Linked DNA regions of Homo sapiens: region 2 is linked to region 1. Evidence: promoter capture Hi-C in human tissues and cell types (Jung and others, 2019). All regions are on one chromosome and are shown on one strand. Each heading gives the region's core, a stretch centred on a gene start or on the middle of the fragment in contact. The rest is flanking DNA. Distances are from core to core; before and after follow the strand shown.

The links. The method cuts DNA at HindIII sites, captures the fragments that hold promoters and counts their contacts. A contact is called where the count stands out against the background at its distance.
Region 2: a fragment that was not itself captured here is called in contact with the fragment with the promoter of LRRC14B in region 1 in 3 of the 25 tissues and cell types used here (mesendoderm cells, spleen and thymus).

The regions. Positions count from the first base shown.
Region 1 is chr5:189,361-194,650 of GRCh38, forward strand. LRRC14B (leucine rich repeat containing 14B) reads left to right here and starts at 2,135. Exons shown (of 2, transcript NM_001080478.3): 1 at 2,135-3,077. The coding sequence starts at 2,179. LOC124900929 (a long non-coding RNA gene) reads right to left here. Exons shown (of 2, transcript XR_007058670.1): 1 at 5,002-5,290; 2 at 3,368-3,628. PLEKHG4B (pleckstrin homology and RhoGEF domain containing G4B) reads left to right here. Exons shown (of 20, transcript NM_052909.5): 20 at 1-606. RefSeq lists an enhancer at 1,800-1,849. The HindIII fragment of the contact is 15,773 bases long and covers 1-5,290 here.
Region 2 is chr5:148,303-153,592 of GRCh38, forward strand. It overlaps PLEKHG4B (pleckstrin homology and RhoGEF domain containing G4B), which reads left to right. Exons shown (of 20, transcript NM_052909.5): 7 at 3,211-3,297. Among named protein-coding and RNA genes, the nearest start is that of LRRC14B, 41 kb to the right of the region's middle. The HindIII fragment of the contact is 5,033 bases long and covers 1-4,688 here.

The DNA of each region.
Region 1 (5,290 bases), core at 885-3,384:
GGACCAGTGTACCTCACAACCTTTCAGACCAGTGAAGGCCAGTGGGCTGGGTGGTCCAGGCATGTCCCCAACGCAGGTCCAGCCATCTCTGCACAGAACTGGAATCTCGGTTCATTTCGGTTTCAGCAGGTCCCATGTAGTTAGCAGGACAGCACTTGAGTTAGGTCTGAGAAAGAACGCCTGTTTGTCATGGCATTTCCTGTAAGGAGCCCAGAGCCGTGGCCCCAGGTTGGGACGGCGGCGCCAGAGCTGGGCCTGAGTCTGACCCAACCTGTGCTGAGTGGTCCTGCTGGAATGGGAACCCCAAGAGGACCACCCCTCTCTAAAAGAAGGGAAAACAGTAAGCGAGAGGGAGGCTGCAGGGGCCCAGACCTTGGCTGACCTTCCTAGCCATGGTCTCCACCCTCCGAGACCCAGGGGCCCCGCAGTGACAGCAGGGTGTTGGGCCACACAGAGCCCGAGTAGGTAAAGGAAGGTTCTGGAAACCACTTTTCAGAACCCAAAAGGTGTCTGGGAAATGGCGTTACCTGCCACTGTTGTTAAGTGTTTACTTTGTATCAATACTGAATTGTTAAAAATTTTAATCATAAAAACCAATGGAACATGTTTTTCTACTGTGTCCTTCGAGATTCTCTTATCTGGTCCTGGAAAGGGGCCGTGTGTCTGGGGAAACCTCTTGTGCACCTCATGAGGGGAGCCCGGGGGCCCACATCGGCTGGCCGAGGGCGGCCACCCCTGAAGGGTGGGGTCAGGGCCCACCCACCTCTTCACACACACCTCCGCCTGCTGGACAGTGCCTGGGCCCCACAACGGAGCACAGTCCCTTCTGCATGGGTCGCCTCCCGGGGAGAGGCATTGCTCAGGCTCAGGGAACAAACTGGGGAGGGTCAGACAGGGAGGCTGGTGGGGCACCCATGACCAGCACCCTCCAAGCTTGCTCAGCAGCCTTCCCCCTCCCACTGCTGTTTCTCTTTCTGTCTCCCCGTCTGTCTGTCTTTCTCAGTCTCTGTCTCTGCCTACCAGTCTCTCTCTCTCTCTCTTAGTCTCTGTCTCTCCCTTTCTGTCTCTCTCTCAGTCTGTCTCTTTCTGTTTCCCTTTCTCTCTCCCTCAGTCTCTGTCTCTCTCCCTCTTAGTTTCTGTCCCTCTGTCTCTGTCTCAGTCTCCGTCACTCACTTCTCTCAGTCTCCCTCAGCCTCTGTCTCATGGCCGTGACCCTCCAAAGCCCATGGACACGTGGTGCCCTGTAGTGATGTGTGCAGTGATGTGTGCAGCGATGTGTGCTGACCCTGCCCTGAGTGGCAGTGTCACGGGGAGAGGTGAGTGCAGCACCCATCAGCTGTCCAACACGGTCAGTGCTGGGAGTGAACCATCAGGCACCGCCCCCCAACACAGGTGTATCCCATTCCCTGCAGCTTTCCCTGCCGCACAGGCGGCAGGGTTGCAGACAGGACACTGCAGCTCAGAGAGAGCTGGGGGCTCATCCGAGGCCATCAGGGAGGCTCCACCTCTCCCAGCCACTCTCTCCCATGGAAAGTAGGGAAGCCACCCCCGCCGGGTCCTTGGGGAGAAGGAAAGGCACAGGGAAGGGGCAAAACAGCAGCTCCATTCCTGGCCACTCGTCTCACCCCAGATGCGAGGCGAAGTGTGGGAGCGGCCCCAGAGGCCACTGTGGAAAGGGAACTGGTTACCGAGTGAGGCGCAGGGGCCTGGCCTGTTCTCTGCCCCGTTGACTGGTGGGGGAGGTGCCCAGAGCTGGGCAGTAGCCCCGCTTGGATGGTAAACAGGACCTGCCCGCTGGCCTCACCGGCCGCCAGCACGAACGCCTGCCAAGACTGGCTTTCTGCAGCATGGAGCACAGGCTTCTCTGCCCAGCCCTGCCATGGGCACGGGCTGCCTTTCTGTGTCGGCTGGGTGCCTGAGCCAAGCAGCTCCCAACGGCTGGGTGCCTGAGCCAAGCAGCTCCCAACGGCTGGGTGCCTGAGCCAAGCAGCTCCCAACGGCTGCGTGCCCCGAGGCCGGGCAGACGCAGGTGTCCCAGGACCAAAATAGCAGTCAGATGATCATAAGGCCCCGTGGCAGGGCCCCCAGGGCAGGCTGCTCACAGCTGCTGCAGCTAAAGATAGGCGTGAAGGGCACACGCCTTGGGGAAAGTCGTGGGGAGCGGTCCTGTCTCGGGCCATGGACACAATGAGGTCACTCCGCTTCATTTCTGCAGAAGCTCTGGTGTCCCACCCCCAGGTGGCCCGGCAGAGCCTGGACAGCGTGGCCCACAACCTCTACCCACTCCTGTTCAAAGCCAGCTACCTGCTGGAGCAGGCGGAGGTGACGCGCGCGGTGCTGGGGCGCTGGCCCCTGGAGGAGTTCCGGCTGGGAGCGCTGCTGGGTCCTGGTGCCGACCACCCCCAGGACCTGCGCGACAGAACCTGCAGGGCCTGCCTGGAGGCGCTGGTGCGCGGCCTCGCGGACCACGTGCTGCAGGACCGGAGCCGCCGGCGGCTGCGGGTGGCTGACCTCACGGGCATCCGAGATGTGCAGGTGCAGCGGTGCCCGTGCGGGAGGGCGCTGGGCAGGTGGGGCCGCACCCAGCTGCTGGCCAGGACCTGCTGTGAGCTGCAGGCAGAGCCCCTCGCAGCCGGGCGCCCCGTCGAGGTCCTCGCCGACCTCTTCGTCACTGAGGGCAACTTCGAGGCGGTGGTGCAGGCTCTGAGGCCAGCGGGCCCGGCCCCTCTGCGGGTGCACTGCCCCTCGTTCCGGGCGGACAGCCTGAGCCCCAGCCAGCTCCTGCACGTGCTGCGTCTGGCTGGCCCGGGTGCCCTGCGCAAGCTGGAGGTGGTGCACAACGTGCGGCTGCATGCGGGCCACGTGCAGCAGCTTCTGGCCCAGGTGGGCTTCCCCCGGCTGGCCTCGCTCACCCTGCCCACCAAGGCCTTTGATGCACCCCCCACCTACGCCTCCACTCCCGACGGCGAGGACCCCCTCCTCGCCTCCATCGCCCGGGAGCTCAGCAAGATGGCGCAGCTCACTGAGCTCAGTGTGGCCTTCTCCACGCTGACCGGGAAGATCCCGACGCTGCTTGGGTGAGTCTTGGGGAGGGGACTGAGGGCGGGCTGGTGGCTGCAGAGGCAAGGAGAGATCGTCCAGGGGCCTGCTCATGTCCAAGGCCATGAGGCTACACGGCCTCCAGCCTCTCACTCCGGGTGTGGCCACAGCCACAGGACAGCGGCCCCGCCAAGGGGCAAGAGCACCGAAAGTCAGAGCCACCAGGAAAGAAGCGGGCTGCCATGTGTGACTTAGGGATGTGGAGAGAATGCCAGTTAAAAAAAGAGAATACGGAAATTACCAAACAGACGAAACAGAAGTGCCTACGTGGTGTGAGGAGTTGTCTATTGTTGATGAACGACTCACCCCAACACTTGGGGGCTTCAAACAGCAAACACGATTTCAGCTCAGAAATCTGAGCCTGTCGGTGCCTTTGGCTCAGGGCTGCTGTTGGCCAAGGGTGCCATCTCATCCGAAGGCCTGACAGGGCGGGATCCTCCCAGTCTCCCTCGAGGGAGGCCTGGGCTCCATGCTGCATGGACCTCCCCATGGTGGGACAGGAGGCTTATGCAGGATCCTCTCAGCAGATCTGCGTGAAGGAGGCAGAGAGGGCAGCAGCTAGGAAGGGGCCAGGCCAAGGCAGCCTCAGGCAGTGGTGAGGGGGATGCCCGGCGGTGGGTCCAAGGGGGGTGCCCAGCAGTGGATCCTGGAGGGGGAGTGCCTAGCGGTGGGTCCAAGGGGGGTGCCCAGTGATGGGTCCTGGGGAACGGGGTGCCTGGCAATGGGTGCTGGGAGGGAGCCTGGTGGTGGGTCCTGAAGGAGGGGCAGCTGGCGGTGGGTATTGGGGTCACCGGGTGATGGGTCCTGGTGGGGCAACCTAGCGGTGGGTCCGGGGGGCACCCAGTTTTGGGTCCTGGGGGTGGGACCTGGCAGTGGGTCTAGGGGGAAGGGGTGCCTGGTAGGTACTGGGGAAGCACCTAGAGGTGGGTCCTCAGGTGCTGGGGGGTGCCTGGCGGTGGGTTCTGGGGGCTGGGGGCACATGGCAGTGGGTCCTGGTGGGGCGTTTGGCAGTGGGTTTTGGGGAGAAGTGCCTGGCGGTGGTAGGGGTGCCTGGTGGTGGGTCCTGAAGTGGGGGCACCTGGTGGTGAGTCCTGGGGTGGGGGGTGGCTGGCTGTGGGTCCTGGGGTGGCACCAGGCAGTAGATCCTGGTGGGGGATGCCTGGCGGTGGGTCCTGAAGGATGGGGGTGCCCTGCGGTGGGTCCTGAGGGATAGAGGTGCCCTGCGGTGGGACCTTGGGCAGGGGGCATGCCTGGCGTGGTTTCTCAGGTGGGACAGGGGCACCTGGCAGTGGTCCCAGTCCTGGGTGGGGAGGGACATGTCCTGGGCGGGACATGCAGGTGGGTGCAGGTGCAGGTGGGTGAAGAGTGAGGCAGCCTCCTAAGGAGAGGGTTGGGATGGGGCAGACCCCAGCTGTGTCCCCCGGCTCAGCGAGGACAGTGAGGCCATGTCCCGATGCAGTTCTGCTCTGGAGATCTCCCTTAGCTCAGAACCAGAGTAGGTCTCACTCCAACTGCCCCTGTATTAGAGCTAGGCTGCCCTACACCAACCAAGTCAGAATATGGGATGTGGGGCAAGTTGGGGGGTCTTTAGGGTTCCCAGGTGAGTCAAAGGCTGTACTGGAAGCCTCCATGGCCCTTCCCAGCTCTGAAACCATGCGGGATTCATCTTTGTCAGAGTGGAGCGGCACTGTCCTGTGGTCTCACTGCCCCCCGCCGTCTGCTTTCTGAGCAGACATTCTGTCCTGTGGTCTCACTGCCCCCCGCCGTCTGCTTTCTGAGCTGACATTCTGTCCTGTGGTCTCACTGCCCCACCCCGTCCACTTTCTGAGTGGACGTTCTCGTGGTCACATGCATCACTTTTCTCAGACAACACAAAAGCAGCTGTTGACAAAACAAACTTACCATTTAGGTGCTGAGGACAAAAGCCAGACCTCTGGGTATAGCTGACTTCACCACGTGGCGGCCGGCAGTCATGGCCAACACTAAGCGAATGCACGTGGTTGTGCTCTGGTAAAATGTTATTTATGGACACCGAGTTTGAATATCATGTAACTTTTCACGTTTCACAAACTATTATATAAATATAACAACCACTCCTAGCTCATAGGCTGTATGAAATTAGGCGGTGGTTGGACGTGACTGTGTGTTGACCCCATGATGGACAAATGGGTTGTTCCCATTCGCCTGAGCC
Region 2 (5,290 bases), core at 922-3,421, 41 kb before region 1:
AGATGATGTGATCTTATATGCAGAAAACCCTAACAGTTCCACAAAAAAAAAAAAATAAATAAAAATAAGTTAATTCAGCAAAGTAGCAGGATGCAAAGTCAACACACAAATATCAGTCACACTTCTCTATGCTAACAGTGAGCAATCTGAAAAGGAAATTAAGAAAACAGTTCATTTACAATAGCATCAAAAAGAATAAAGTACTTAGGAATTAACCAAAGAAGTGAAAGACTTTTTCACTGAAAACTACAAGACAGCTGAAAGAAATTAAAGAAGACATAAATAGAAAGATATCTCATGTTCAAGGATTGGAAGACTTAATATTGTATTGAAATATCAATACTACACAAAGTGATGTATAGATTCAGTGCAATCCCTATCAAAATTAAGCTGTTGTTTCTTGCCGAAATAGGAAAACCTATCCTGAAATTCATAGGGAATCTCAAAGGACTCCAAATAGCCAAAACAATTGTAAAAAATAAAAACAAAGCTGGAGGACTCACAGTTCCTGATTTCAAAACTTAACAAAGCAACAGTAATCAAAAAAGTTTGGCACTGGCATTAAAACAGACGTATAGAACAATGGAATAGAGTAGAAAGCCATGAAACTAACAATCATATACATAAATGATTTTTGAAAAGGGTACCAAGACCATTCAATGGAGAAAGGACAGTCTTTTTTAACAAATGGTGCTTAAAAAACTAGATATTCACATGCAAAAGAATGAACTTAGATTCTTACCTAAACACCATATAAAAAATTAACTCAAATGGATCAAAAACCTAATTGTAAGACCTAAAACTATAAAACGTTTAGAAGACAACATAGGGCAAAAGTTTTCTAACATTGGATTTGGCAATGATTTATTAGATATAATATCAGAGGCACCAGCAACAAAAGAAAAAATGGACAAATCAGACTTTTCAAAAATTAAAAAATGTGCATCAAAAGACTACCAGACAGATGTGGTAGCTCATTCCTGTAATCCCAGCACTTTGGGAGGCTGAGGCAGGAGGATTGCTTGAGCCCAGGAGTTCAGGACCAGCCTGGGCAATATAGTAAGACTCTGTCTCTATGAAAAAAAAAAATTAGCTGAGCATGGTGGTGCATGTTTGTAGTCCTAGCTACTTAAGGGTCTGAGGTGGGAGGATCGCTTGAGCCCAGGAGGTCAAGGCTGCAGTGAGCCATGGTCATGCCACTGCACTCCAGTATGGATGACAGAGAGAGACCCCGTCTCAAAAAAAGTAAATAAGAAGACGCTATCAACAGAGTAAAAAGGCAGCCCACAGAATGGGGGGAAATTTTGGCAAATTATGTATCTGATAGGAGGTTAATATCCAGAATATATAGAGAACTCCTAAAATTCAACAACAACAAAAACCAAACTGCCCAATTCAAAAATGAACAAAAGACTTGAATAGACATTTCTCCAAAGAAGATATATATGTGGCTAATGAGCACATGAAAAGATGTTCAATGTCATTAATGATTAGAGAAATTCAAATCAAAACCTCAATTAAATACCACTTCCCCATCCATTAGGGTGGCTATTGTAAAAAAACAACAAGTGTTGGCAAAGATACGGAGAAACTGGAACCCTTGTGCACGGTTGATGGGAACAGTAAATAGTGACTCATTGTGGAAAACAATTTGGCAGTTCCTCAAAAAAGTAAATATAGGATTACCATATGATCCAACAATACTGTGTCTGGGTATATACCCAAGAAATTGAAAGCAGAGTTTCAGAGATTTATACAGCTGTGTTCATAGCAGCATTATCCATAACAGCTAAAACACAGAAGCAACCTTAGTGCCCATCAACAGATGAATGGATAAGCAAAATGTGGCCTATCTTTACGATGGAATATTATCCAGCCTTAAAAAGGAAGGAAATTCTGACATATGCCACAGCATGTATGAATCTTGAGAACATGCTGAGTGAAATAAGCCAATCACAAAAAGACAAACATTCCACTTCTATGAGTACTCAGAGTAGCCCAGATCCCAGAGACAGAAAGTTGAATTATGGTTGCCTGGTGCCAGGAGCAGGGGGTAATGGAGAGTTTTTCTTTTACGGGTGCAGGGTTTTGCTCTTACAAGATGAAAAGAGTTATGGAGACGAATGGTGGTGGTGGTTGCACTACGTTATGAATGTACCTAAGACTGCTGAACAGTACACTGAAAAATGATGATGATAGTGTTTCACCACAATGAAACAATTGAAAATGCACATCTGATAAAGGGCTTGTATATAGAATATATACGGTCTCAAAACTCAGTAATAAGAAAACAACCCAATAAAATATGGGAAAGGATTTGAGTACTCTTCACTGAAGATGATACACAGATGGCAAATAAGCACATAAAAATATGCCTAACGTCATTAATCACTGGGGAAATGCAACTGAAAACCAAAATGAAACACACAAAAACAGTAACAAAGCTTGACAGTAACAAATGCTTGGTATTGCTGATGGAAATGCAAAATGGTACAGCCACTCTGGAAAATACTTACTTATCACATGAGCCAGAAATCCCACTCCTAGATATTTATCCAAGAGAAATGAAAACTTGTGTTCACACAATATTTATAGTGACTTTACCCATGATTGCCAAAAACTGGAAACAACCCAGTTATCCTTCAGCTGGTGAATGGATGAACAGATTGTGGTGAGGCATACCGTGGAATACTGCTCAGCAAAACAGAGGAACAAACCGTTGATCTCCACAACAGGGATGAGTTCCCAATGCACAATGCTAAGTGAGAGAGGCCACTCCTGCCTGAGTCTATTTATGTCTAGAAAAGGCAAGTCGGTGGAGACGAAAGCAGGTCAGTGGTTGCCAGGGGCTGGGCATAGGAGAGGGCTTGGCTACGAAGAGGCACAAGAGAATTTTGGGGTTGCTTAACAGTTCTTTGTCTTGATGGTGGTGATGGTTACATGACTATGCTTTCATCAAAACTTATAGAACTATTCACTAAAAAGGGTGAATTTTATTGTATGTAAATTATACCTCGATAAACCTGATTACATTAAAAATTCATAAGGGCAAATAATTTACATTTCAGGGCAAAGTCAGCCATGTTTTATGCACTGTAGGCACTCTGGGAAACTATGACAGAAGTAGTACCACTCAAAATTGGGCAATTCTATTAATGAAGTTAAAAATTAGAAAGCTAATCAGTAATATTTATTTCTTATTTATTTCAGAACAACACATCTCCTATAATTCATAGTATCTTGCTGTTGGTAGATAAAGAATCTGCATTTAGGCCTGACAAGGATGCAATAATTCAGGTAATGGTTTAGACTGTGGGATCCTGAGTGATGGATAAAATTAAACATTAAGGCACCTAGATGAGATGAAACACATGAAGGAATTTAGATAAGTTCTAATTGCATCCATGTGGGAGCCTGGAAACCTACTTCCTACCCCGTAAGTTCTTGCAGGAGTCCTGCAGAGTATGCCATGAAAAACTTAAAAATGTGACCTTTCTTCTCCACCTCATATGGTTTCTTTCCTTCTCTTTCTTTGTATCTTCCTCTTTTATCTGAAAACATCTTCTTCATTTGGCCTCATTCTGAAAGGGTATTTTTGTTACATCTAGAATTCTGGTTTGAGAGGAGTTCTCCTTTTCCCCTCAGCACTTTAAAGATACTGCTCTGTTGCCTTCTGGCCTCCATAATTTTAGAAGAAAAGTTCATCATAATTCAGATCATTGTTCATCTCTATGAAGTGTGTTAATTTTCCTTTGGCTGTTTCCAAGGTACTTCCTTTCTTTTGAGCAAATCGCAATGCGAGCGGGCTTGGTTTTCTTCATTATCCAGTTTAGGCTTGAACGTTAAATTTGTGAATTCATGTCTATCACCACCTTTAGGACCTTTTTAGCCATTCTTTCTGTCTTTTTTTTTTTTTTTCCTTTCCTGAGACAGCATCTAGCTCTGTCACCCAGGTTGGAGTGTGGTTGTGCAATCAGAGCTTACTGTAATCTCAAACTCCTGGGCTCAAGAGATTCTCCCACCTCAGCCTCCTGAGTAACTGGGACTGAAGGTGTGCACCCCCATGCCAAGCTACTTTTTTTTTTTTTTTAAGAGACAGGTTCTTGCTATGTTGCCTAGGCTGGAATCGAAGTCCCGGCCTTAGGCAGTCCTCCCACCTTGGCCTCCCAAAGCTCTGGGATTGTAGGCCTGAGCCACAGTACCTGGCCTAGTTCTTAAAAACTTTTTTCCTGCTTTATTCTCTCTCTCTTTCTAGTACTTCAATTGCGTATACCAGTATTGTCCCGCAGATCTCTAAGAATCTGTCTTTTTTAACTTTTTTCCTCTCTAGTCTTCATATCAGGTTGTTCCCATTGATCCTGTCCTTAGGGTCACTGGCTCCTTACTCTGTCATCTCTTCAGCTGTTAAACTCACTAATGTGGCTTGGCTCTGTGTCCCCACACAAATCTCCTCTCAAATTTTAATCCCCACGTGTGGAGGGAGAGACCTGGTGGGAGGTGACTAGATCATGGGGGCAGATGCTGTTCTTCTGATAGTGAGTGAGTTCTCATGAGAGCTGATGGTTTTAAAGTGTGGCCCTTCCTTACTCTGTCTCTTGCCTGTACCATGTAAGATGTGTCTTGCTTCTCCTTTGCCTTCTGCCATGATTGTAAGTTTCCTAAGGCCTCCCCAGCCATGCAAAACTGTGAGTCAATTAAACCTCTTTCCTTTATAAATTACCCAGTCTCAGGTAGTATCTTTACAGCAGTGTGAAAACAGACTAATACATTTACCCAGTGAATGTTTTAGTTCAAATATTGTATTTTTCAGCTATAAGATTTCCAATGGATTTTAAAATATATTTTCTACATCTCTCCTGAGTTTTCCTCTCCTTTCATAAATTGCAAGCATTTTTCCTTTACCTCATTGAGCACAGTTTTAATGGCTGCTTTGAAGTCCTTGTCTAATAATTCCAACATCTGGGTCATCTCTGGGTTGGCCTCTGCTGATTGTCTTTCCCTGGAGAATAGGTCCCATTTTCTGATTCATGATGTGTCACATAATCCTGGACATTGTGAATATTCTGCTGGGGAGACTGGATTCTGGTATAGACTCACAGTGTTGTTCTAGTGTGCACGTAACGTGGTTAGACTCCAACCGGCAGCTCTGTGTCACCCACAGTGGGTTCAGTTTAATTCTGAGTCTTCCCCCATGTATGCACGGTTCAGGGTCAGCCAGAGACCTGGGCAGAGTTTACACACATACCGCGGGGCTTCTTCCACAGCTGCCGCCTTCTGGGAATCCACTTTC